Regions from separate parts of the Homo sapiens genome. Here region 2 is linked to region 1. The links are contacts of gene promoters, found by promoter capture Hi-C in blood cells and fetal thymus (Javierre and others, 2016). All regions are on one chromosome and are shown on one strand. Each heading gives the region's core, a stretch centred on a gene start or on the middle of the fragment in contact. The rest is flanking DNA. Distances are from core to core; before and after follow the strand shown. Region 1 holds the start of ZNF692 (zinc finger protein 692). Region 2 overlaps HNRNPU (heterogeneous nuclear ribonucleoprotein U).

Evidence for each region. Contacts are between HindIII fragments. The CHiCAGO score rates a contact against its expected background, and 5 or more counts as called.
Region 2: a contact is called between a fragment that was not itself captured here and the fragment with the promoter of ZNF692 in region 1, in 1 of 17 cell types (fetal thymus). The highest score is 9.0, in fetal thymus.

What each region holds. Positions count from the first base shown.
Region 1 is chr1:248,857,835-248,864,787 of GRCh38, forward strand. ZNF692 (zinc finger protein 692) reads right to left here and starts at 1,251. Exons shown (of 12, transcript NM_017865.4): 1 at 1,084-1,251; 2 at 297-487; 3 at 1-25. The coding sequence starts at 475. ZNF692-DT (ZNF692 divergent transcript) reads left to right here and starts at 1,330. Exons shown (of 3, transcript NR_186117.1): 1 at 1,330-1,412; 2 at 4,795-4,953; 3 at 6,743-6,953. RefSeq lists enhancers at 56-135, 736-785, 1,586-1,735, 5,067-5,326, 5,797-5,936 and a silencer at 946-1,445. The HindIII fragment of the contact is 15,686 bases long and covers 1-6,267 here.
Region 2 is chr1:244,857,712-244,860,211 of GRCh38, forward strand. It overlaps HNRNPU (heterogeneous nuclear ribonucleoprotein U), which reads right to left. Exons shown (of 14, transcript NM_031844.3): 5 at 1,564-1,663; 6 at 1,018-1,130; 7 at 300-563; 8 at 1-6. Among named protein-coding and RNA genes, the nearest start is that of SNORA100, 4.7 kb to the left of the region's middle. The HindIII fragment of the contact is 609 bases long and covers 947-1,555 here.

The sequences.
Region 1 (6,953 bases), core at 1-2,500:
GAGGACACAGCCTGAAGAAGTGTACCTGCCAGCAGGAGAAGAGGCAGGTCAGGACTCAGGTGGCCAGCCACCCTCAGCCCTGGGCACTCACACATGTAAGGGGCCAGCCCTAAGGGCCGCTATTCGCTGAGACCATGAGGAGGGGAGCAGGACCCTCGGAGGCCACAAGTCACACAGGCCGTCCTGGTAAAGTGAGAAACCTGAGGGTGGAAAAGAGCAGCAGGACAGGCCCTGGAGAGGAGGCTAGGGGCTGCTGCCTGGGTACCCTCCCCCAAGCCCTTCTCCCGGCCCCTAACCGGTCCAACAGGAACTTGGCGAGCTGCGAGTGCAGGGAGAAGCCCAGCCGCTCCTTGAGGAGGCACCACTGCTCCATGTGGCCGCCCAGGCGGATGCGGCACTTGCTGCGGCGCGCGTCCAGCTGCCGCCGCTTCTCCCGCCGCCTGCAGGACACGTCCACCGCCGGGGAGGAAGCCATGTGCACCAGAGGCTGGAGGGTGGAAGGGACGTCTTCAGCGCCCTGCCGATCTCGGGGGTCGGGGACCCGGCTCCACCTGCCGTTAGGGCCTCAGTTTCCTCATCAGTGAACTGGGGCAAGACTAAACTATTTCAATAGCAGTGGCAGGTGTGGAGCCAAACCCCGTCCTTCTATGATACAGGGTGTTGAAGCTCAGCGCTACCATGTGAGTGTCGTCGGGTGGGAGGCAGGCAGACAGAAGCAGTCAGAACAAAGGCCTGCGCCCTCCAGTCCACTGAAGTGGAGCTGTGGGGAAGGGGCGAGAGACTTTCACGGGAAATTTCAACTGGGCTGGGGGCGGTCCACACATTTCATCTTGAATAGGGCAGCGGCCTTTACTGGTTTCTAGGGGAAGGAAAGGTCGTGTCCTGGCGTGCAGCTGGGGGCGCTCTTCATAGTTGGGTCGAGTGGCGGTGAGGCCGTGGTCAGAGGTCTGGAGGGCGCCCCCCATCCACCCCGTCTTGGGCACCCCCACTTAATGCTGACAGTGAGTGGAGCGGACTAATCCCAATGGCAGTTCCCAGGCTGCCCAGAGCCCCCGTCGCGACCCACCCCCACCCCGGCCTTACCTGTGCGCCCCCACGCGCCCTCACCCCCACTGCGCCTGCGCCTGCGCCTCCCGGGCCTAGCGAGCAGGCCCGGAGCTGCTGGAAGACAGGGGCCCACCTCGCGCGCGCAGCGTTTCTCTTTTAAGAAGAAACGGTGCCTCTCGGCGTCGGCTGCTGTAGCCCGGAACTGAGGCCCGCGCCCCAGAGGGAGGGGCGAGTCGGAGGCCGACGCCGTGCGCCTGCGCACTGGGTGCCCCGCGCAACGCCCGCCGGGAATCGTGGTTGCCCGACTCAAGTCGCCCGCGCGTGTCGCGGAGCCCCGCGGCAGTTGTGGTTGGGTGGCTTCTGTGGTGAGCGTCTGCGCTTGGTGACCAAAGGTTTGAGGGAAAGTGGAAGAGACAGGGTCAGGCCTCCTGTGCTCCAACCCCAGCCCACCCGGCCTGTATGGGGACGTTGCCTCTTCACTTGTTCCCGTTTTGTATTCACCTTCGATTTCCCCCTCACAGTTGCCACCCGCAAACATGATGCAGAATCAGTCACTTTGAAAGACCCACAGAGGGTCCAGCTAGAGCCCTCTGTGGACCGCAGAGTCCCACCAGCTACAGCCCACTTCTATTACCATCAGAATTCCTCCTAAAAGTTGCCTGCATTCTCTGTGTACGCTCACTTCCCATCCTCTTCTCTTCAAATGGCTCTGATGGAGCTTTCCTCCCCACCCAGCCACTGCAGTGGCGCTTCACAAGGTCACTTGAGACGGTCATATTGCTACATAGCAGCTGTCAGTTCCGTCCGCCTCTCTGCCCTAGAAAGAGCGCGACTATGTAGCTCTCGTCCTCCTCATCTTTATGGCTCCCTCTACATTTTGGGCCCCAGTTTTACTTCTGTGACTTCATATGCTCCAGGTTTTCCACCCTCCTCACTGGCTCCTTCTATCCTTTTTTTGGATCCATTCCCTCTGTTCTGCCAAAAGATGAAGTGTGCCCTGGCTCAGGCCTTGAACCAGATCTTCTCTCGTCTGCATATGTTCTCCTGGGTGATCTAATTAGTTCCATGGCTTTAAATACACTGATGGCTCCTAGCCTAGCCCTCTTTCAACTCCAGTCATATATCTTACTGCCCGCTTGACTTACATGTGTTAACTGAGCTAACACGTGTAAAGAATGTAGGACAGTGCCTGGCATGTAGAGAGCGCTGACACATGATAGCTGATATTTTCTCCAACATAAATATGGCAAACATATAACAATAACGCCTGTACCCTCCCCCATGCCAGTAAACTATGTCATCATCCACCCACTTGTTCAGAAAAAAGGGAATCAGCCTTGATTCTTTGCCTTTTATGATACCTAAACCATATACATCAGCAAATCTTGTTGGTCCTGTCTCCAAAAATTTATCTTAAATCCAATCACTTCTGACCCTCTCAACTGCTAAAACCCTACTCCAAGCCACTGGTATTAATTTTCTGTAATTGTTGTAACAAATTGTGTTGTGTGTTGTTTTCAGCCACAAACTTGCTCCCTTTACTCAAATTTATTTTCTCACAGTTCTGGAGGCCAAGGCATCAGCAGGGCCACAGGCCATTGTAAGGGCTCTAGGGGAGAATCCTTTCCTTGCTTCTTCTAGCTTCTAATGGTGGCCAGCATTCTCTGACTTGTGGCCACGTCACTCCAATCTCTGTCTCTGAGGTCACATTGCCTCCTTCTGTGTCAAATCTCCCTCTGCTTCTCTCTTACAAGGATGCTTGTGAATGCATTTAGAGTCCATCCTTATAATCCAAATAATCTCTCCATCTCAGTATCCTAAGACAATTTCTTCTGTAAAGTATTTGCCATATAAAGTAATCGGCTGCACACGGTGGCTCACGCCTGTAATCCCAGCACTTTGGGAGGCCAAGGCGGGTGGATCACTTGAGGTCAGGAGTTTGAGATGTGCCTGCCCAACATGGTGAAACCCTGTCTCTACTAAAAATACAAAAAAAATTAGCTGGGCATGGTGGCATGGGCCTATAATCCCAGCTACTCGGGAGGCTGAGGCAGAAGAATTGCTTGAACCCAGGAGGAGGAGGTTGCAGTGAACCGAAATTGCACCACTGCACACCAGCCCGAGTGACAGAGCAAGACTCCATCTAAAATAAAATAAAGTAATCTCCACAAGTTTTGGGGATTAGGACACAGATATCTTTTCTGGGACTATTTTTAAGCCTACCATACCACTATCATCTCTCACCTGGTCTGTGGCTACATCTTCCTAATGGATCTGCCTCCTACTTTAACTTGTACTCTCACAAAGCAGGGAAAATTTCCTCAAAGATCAAATCTTTTGCTTAAAATCTGTGAGTGGTGCAATCCAAAATCCTTATCATGGCCTCAAGGACCTACTTAATTGGGCCCTTGGCTTCTTCTCTGGCATCATCCCCCAACTTTTCCCACTTTGTCCTCCCACCTTTTTGCTATTTCTCAAGTGTGCCAAGTATCCTAGAGGGAGTTCTTTTGTCTCTGGAGCACTCAATTCTCCCCTCAGCCCCCACCCCATCCCCCAGCCCACCACCCAGCTGTTCATCTGTTTGCTCCCTTCTCATCTTGTAAATCTCGGCTATAAGATCACCCACTCAGCTATAAAATCCCTCATTCAGAAAGCTCCCTTTCCTCAGTCATGCTCTACCTCACTGTGCCCTATTGTATCTTCTTCATGGCACTTACTTTCTGAAATCATCTCAGGGACTTGTTTGTGTGTTTGTTATTGGTATACGATGATTGTTGACTAGCCCAGCCTTCTCCTCTGCAGCCTAAATATCTCAAATGACATGGTGTGCAAACATGAACACCCTTAGGATGAGCCCAGTGTGTCCTGTGCATATTCCTTTTGATTTGTGGTATCAGTGACTCAACATACTTGTCTGACTAGTGTAAGGTAGGAAGGAAGATGTCCCAGCTACTTTACTCATTAATGAATGTGTAACTTTTCCAGCTACTTTACTCATTAATGAAAGTGTAACTTTCACATCAAAAGAGCAGGACTCCATCGAGAACAAACTTTATCCTTTCCTCATGGTCCCTTAATAGATATCTGCAAAATCCTTGTGGTTTCATCCAAGGGAATGAAAGGTCTTGTAATTCTTGGTTACTCTTAGAATGTTGGGTCTCACTTTGAGACCCAAGAACATTTTTGGTTCTCTTGGTTTGATCTTGTTTAAAATAATAAAATGAAATTACTGCCAATGCCCAGCTCTTCAATAACCGTCTCCAAATAAATCTCTCAGCCTCTCTTTAATTTCTTATATCATCTAGGTAAGGAATGAGCCAACTCTCTCAAAAACAGTCACCAGCCCCTTCCTTTGTAAGTGCTGCAAGGGAGTGCTAACATTTTAAGGAGGGGTTCTCTGTAAACATTGGTTCTCTGCCTTTAGTGACCTCATTGCAGTCTGAGACCTTGAATTCCATCTTAGCATCCCATTACAAAGGCTAAGATTAAATGTGAGCTATTTGTATTTTTGTCACTGTTGAGCTTTACAGTTTACAGACTGCTGAAACTGCCAATTCTTTTATACACATAAAAGGGTCCATGTGGAGGACATATTTATCTTCATAACATTTATTTTTCCTGGACTATGCATGGCACCATAGCGCTCTTCTTATCTCCTGCTTTGGCACAGCCAAATCTAATATTGCTGTACCCTCTGAACTTTTAGTATCTTCTCTCCAAAGAGAAAAACTACTTTCCACTCTCCAGATCCAAGGAGGAATGAGCCAAATTGCTACAGAAGTTGAGTCAACCCACTGCCCTCAAATCCTGAGATGTATTCCCAGTGGGAAAAGGAACACTCCTTCAGGACTTTGTACCCCAAATTCCACGAGACCCACAGACACCCTCAGCCCAGCCCAGCTCCAGGTATTTGCATGAACCTCCCTCTTTCTCAGCCCTCATCCTCTCAGTGACTGGTGTCTTCATCCTCCAACTAGTCATCATTGCTGGGAGTGCAATTCCGTTTCCCCTGAGCCCCTGACAACTGAAGGGTGGTGCCTCTACCCTGAGTCTGATCATGCCCTAGTGCGGCTGACCTGGGCGCTCTGTGATGCCATGTGGCCCAGGTAGGGTGGGGTGGTATACAAGAGATGCGGTTGCCCTTGCTCCTGGCTGGCCCAGCTGCCTGGGTTGGTCCTGTTAGCTTTGGCTCCGGGCCGGAGGGCAGACGACATGAAGGAGGAGGAAGCCAGCCGCCAAGAGACTCGCCGTGGTAAATTCAGCGTCTGCAGGGGTGCTTGACGCGGCGGAGCCCGCGACGCCGGCAGCGGAGCGACATGTTGCTCCTGGTGCTGAAGCAGCAGCTGCCCACCCTCGCTGTGGTTGTGCTGATGGCAGCAGCAGCCCGTCTAGGGTGGCCACTGCCGTGATGCTGGCTGCAGCGCTCCATGAAGCGAGTGGAGCCAGGAACAGGCAGAAGCCCCGCCCCCTCCTGAGTTGATAGGGTGGGACCTTCGCGCTCACGGGTGCAGCCTCTGCCGCCCGGCTGTGGCTGCCGACCAAGGCCTCCCTGTGCTCTTGGGGGCCAGGAGCAGCCAGGAGCCCGCCCTCCCAGGCACAGCTACTGCGGCTCAAGCTGTGGCTGCAGACCCAGGCATCTCTTCACTCTCCAGGGGCTGGGAAGGACCCCGCTGCCCGCGGAGGCTCAGAAATGCCTGGTTCTGCTGCCTGGTCTCTCCCCGCTCCTGGTGCCTGCTCCACGGGCTCTGAAATGTCTGCTCCCAGTGCCTGGCTGCTCCCTGCTCCCAGTGCCCACTCTCATCTCAGAGCAAAGTTGAGGCCAAGGCCGGCGCTACTGCAACCCGGCCGGGTGTGCGCACACTCGGGCAGCGCTGACATGCCAGCCCCCTGCTGCCTCGGCCCCCTCTGGACTTTGGGCGCCAATGAGCACAGGAGGGAGGCCGAGGTGAGGGCTGAGGGCAGACCAGCACTGACCTGCAGGTGCCCCTCAGCATGAACAGCCTGGGTGCTATAATGTTGTTCCTTCTGTTTTACTTCTAACTGCCCCTTCCTCCTGCTCGCCTCTGACTCTCTCATTGCATAATTTTGCCCCCTCTTTCTCTCCTTCATCTTCTCCCCTTTTCCTTGCCTCATCTCATTTCCTCCTTCTGTACCTAAAAAGTTTGGCATTTGGGCTAAAAAATGAAACAACCATTTCTCTTCAGCCATCTTCCAGCATTAAGCTTCTAATACAGAAGAGTTGGTGAGCCACCAACAATTTGAAGACATTTCTTCTAGTTCTATTCCTGTTGCATTCCCCTCCTGTTTAGTCCACTCACCAGACTATTTTTGAGTTGTGCCCTAGCTCTCTCTCCATGCTTCCACCCACCAGGACCTGGTAGATCTTACCCTCCTCACACTGCTCATTCAGCTGGTTAGAAATGAAGCCTCCCACCAGTCAGAACTGGGAAACATGGTGGGAACTAAAGAATTCTCTGTCTCCCCTTTCCTCATTGTTAGTCTTCAGTTCACTCTCTCCAGGAGCACCTAAAACAGCTTGTGACTAAACATCCCATTTGGAGCCCTGAGCAGAGACTGTGATCCACTAGATTAGGGCCTTGGGCTTCAAGCCTATACTTATTTCTAGCCTTTGGCCTATATTTAGACTTTCTGGGTACTCATGCAGAGGCTAACCACACCATGCTTTTTCCCCTAGGACAGACCATAATGAAAGATGCTTTACCTTGAAAACTAAATGGACAGGACTTGATCACAAAGCATCACCTCTCCCCTGGACTCCAGAGGATCGTTCCTAACTGCTTACTTGACACATCTATTAGGTATCTCAAACTGGAAGGTCTAAAACTGAACTCTCCCTCCTCCATAATCTGCCTCCCCTTAGCCTTCCCTTTGTCAGTAAATGATGA
Region 2 (2,500 bases), core at 1-2,500, 4.0 Mb before region 1:
CACAACCTAGTGAAAAGAAAAGAAATGTCATTTCACTGTCAGTAGACACCACCTAATAATTCTTTAAATATTGTTAAGGCCAATTTAAATATCTAAGTTTTCATAGCCCTTACACTAACGGACAAAAATTTGTTTATGGAAAGATTAACAGTCAACATAAGGGGGAAACAATTACTTAAGAGCAATATGCACAGCACAAAGTAAATGAAACAGACTAATCATCTAGTTCTTCTAAATGTCATTTTGTGCCAGGCAAGCAATATTCAAATGCCACAGTTAAAAAAAAAAAAATCCCTTACTTCACAATCTTTCTTCTCTTCAGGCCCCTTTGGTCCTCTAACTCGATCCTCTAAGGGGACGTTCTGGATGAAAGTATACTCTTCAGGTATTGGAAAATATGGCTTTTCCTTCTGACCAAAATTAAATTCAACTGCACAGTTGTGGCAGAGAACATGCGGGAACAGTGGCCGTCCAGCAAGAACTTCCTTACTGATTTTGAAGGCAACGCCAAGATCTTGTCCATTCTTAGCATACGAGAGTTCTACTTCATCACTTTCAAAGTTCTGTTACACAGAAAAAAATTCAACAGTTAAAATCTGCTTCCTTAAACTTTCTAAAAAACTAAGAATTAAAATTAGGAGCAAAGCTTATCCTGTGGAAGCTACAGGTTAAAGAACTATTAGGTGGCCTTTAAGGGCTACACAGTTAAGAAATCTGATGGTTGTAAACCATGAAGCACGTATCTCCAGAACCAGAAACAATACTGACCTAGAAGCTAGACTGAATTTTCTAGGTCAATTTCATGTTCACTGTTTTCAGTCAAAATGAATTAGTGAGTTCCTCAAAAATGTCCTGTGTTTTCCCAATTCAACTGCTGAATGAAGTCTTTACACTAATCCAGGGACTGGTGTATTTTGTTGCTCATATTGAAAACTGACCTCAGTAAAGCTTCTTTAAAGTTCCTAGATATAGCTACTAACTTTGCCATTTATACATAGAAAGTTAGCTTTAACTTACAGCAAAACATGTAATCACATCATTTTCATCAAACTTTTCTCCATAATCTTCAGTCTCACAGTTGCATGTTTTTATTCCTTTTAGAGAATACCCATAAGAAAATTCTTCTTCACCTAAGAAAATAATTAATCTTCATGAAGTAGATGTTTAAAATAGTCCAAAGACTCATCTATTTTACTACTTAAGATGTAGGCTACAAGAGAAATAAGCATATAACCTAATCACCTGTCACTGACACTATTACTTTTCTATCTCTGTACCAGAATTGATGGAAGTTAGGAGGGATATATACGCAGAGACCAAATTAGTTGACGATTTGCATATCACGGGTAAGATTTTATTTCAACCATTGGTCATAAACTTCTAATAAAGGAACAAAAACTAAAATGTAGCCTGTGCCTACTATGTGCTAATATTACCTGTCTGAAGTATTAACAGAATAGATAAAAACAGACAAAAGGCTTAGAATGCCCTCTAGTTAAAAAACACTGAAATCAGACCCTCCTGAACATTCATGAGCCCACATCAGTCAAAAAGAAGCTTTACCAAGTAACATTCCACTTGTAGTTAGTGACCAGCCAATACGAACTTCATGTATGTCAATATCTTTTGTATATAAATGCCTTACTGGGATCTTCTCTGTAACCTGAAAGTCAAATCATTAAATAATTAAAATAATACACCAAGGAGGTAACCCCTTAACTCTCGCATATTTCATTGCGCCACGGGCTAATCTTCCTCTAGCTATAAATACAAAGAAGGCACACTCTAGCCCACCCCCAATATTTGTAAGAACTTTAAACTGATGTGCTTATAACTTGAAATTTAAAGAGTTAAATACTTATTTGACCCATATTTAAAAGAATACTTAATATTTTTAAAGTTCATGTTGTCAGTCTTTAACTTAAAGCCAATTAAAGGATACAATTAATGTTTTTCTCACCAACAAAAGCAGTAATGTAACCAAATTTTATTTTTAACTCTTTGGTGGCCCTTTCAAATGCTTGATAAAAATGAAGTACCCTAAATAAAAAATCGCCTAGCTCTGCATGGCAAGTTCTAACATAACAACCGTGATTAACTGTCACAACAAAATGAAGGTTCCAAGCTCCTCTTTTAATTTACAGGAAGCTTCAAAAATAAGTACCTTTGATAACTTAGCAGTATGAAGCACCTGTAATTCCAGCATTCTGAGAGGCTCAGGCGGGCAGATCACTTGAGCTTAGGAGTTCAAGACCAGCCTGGGCAACATGGTGAGACCTTGTCACTATTTTAAAAAGGAAAAAAAAAGGCTGGGCACAGTGGCTCATGCCTGTAATCCCAGCACTTTGGGACGCCGAGACAGTGGATCACCTGAGGTCAAGAGTTGGCGACCAGCCTGGCCTACGTGGTGAAACCCCATCTCTATTAAAAATACAAAAATTAGCCAGGTGTGGTAGTGTGTGCCTCTAGTCCGAGCTACTTGAGAGACTGAAGCAAGGAG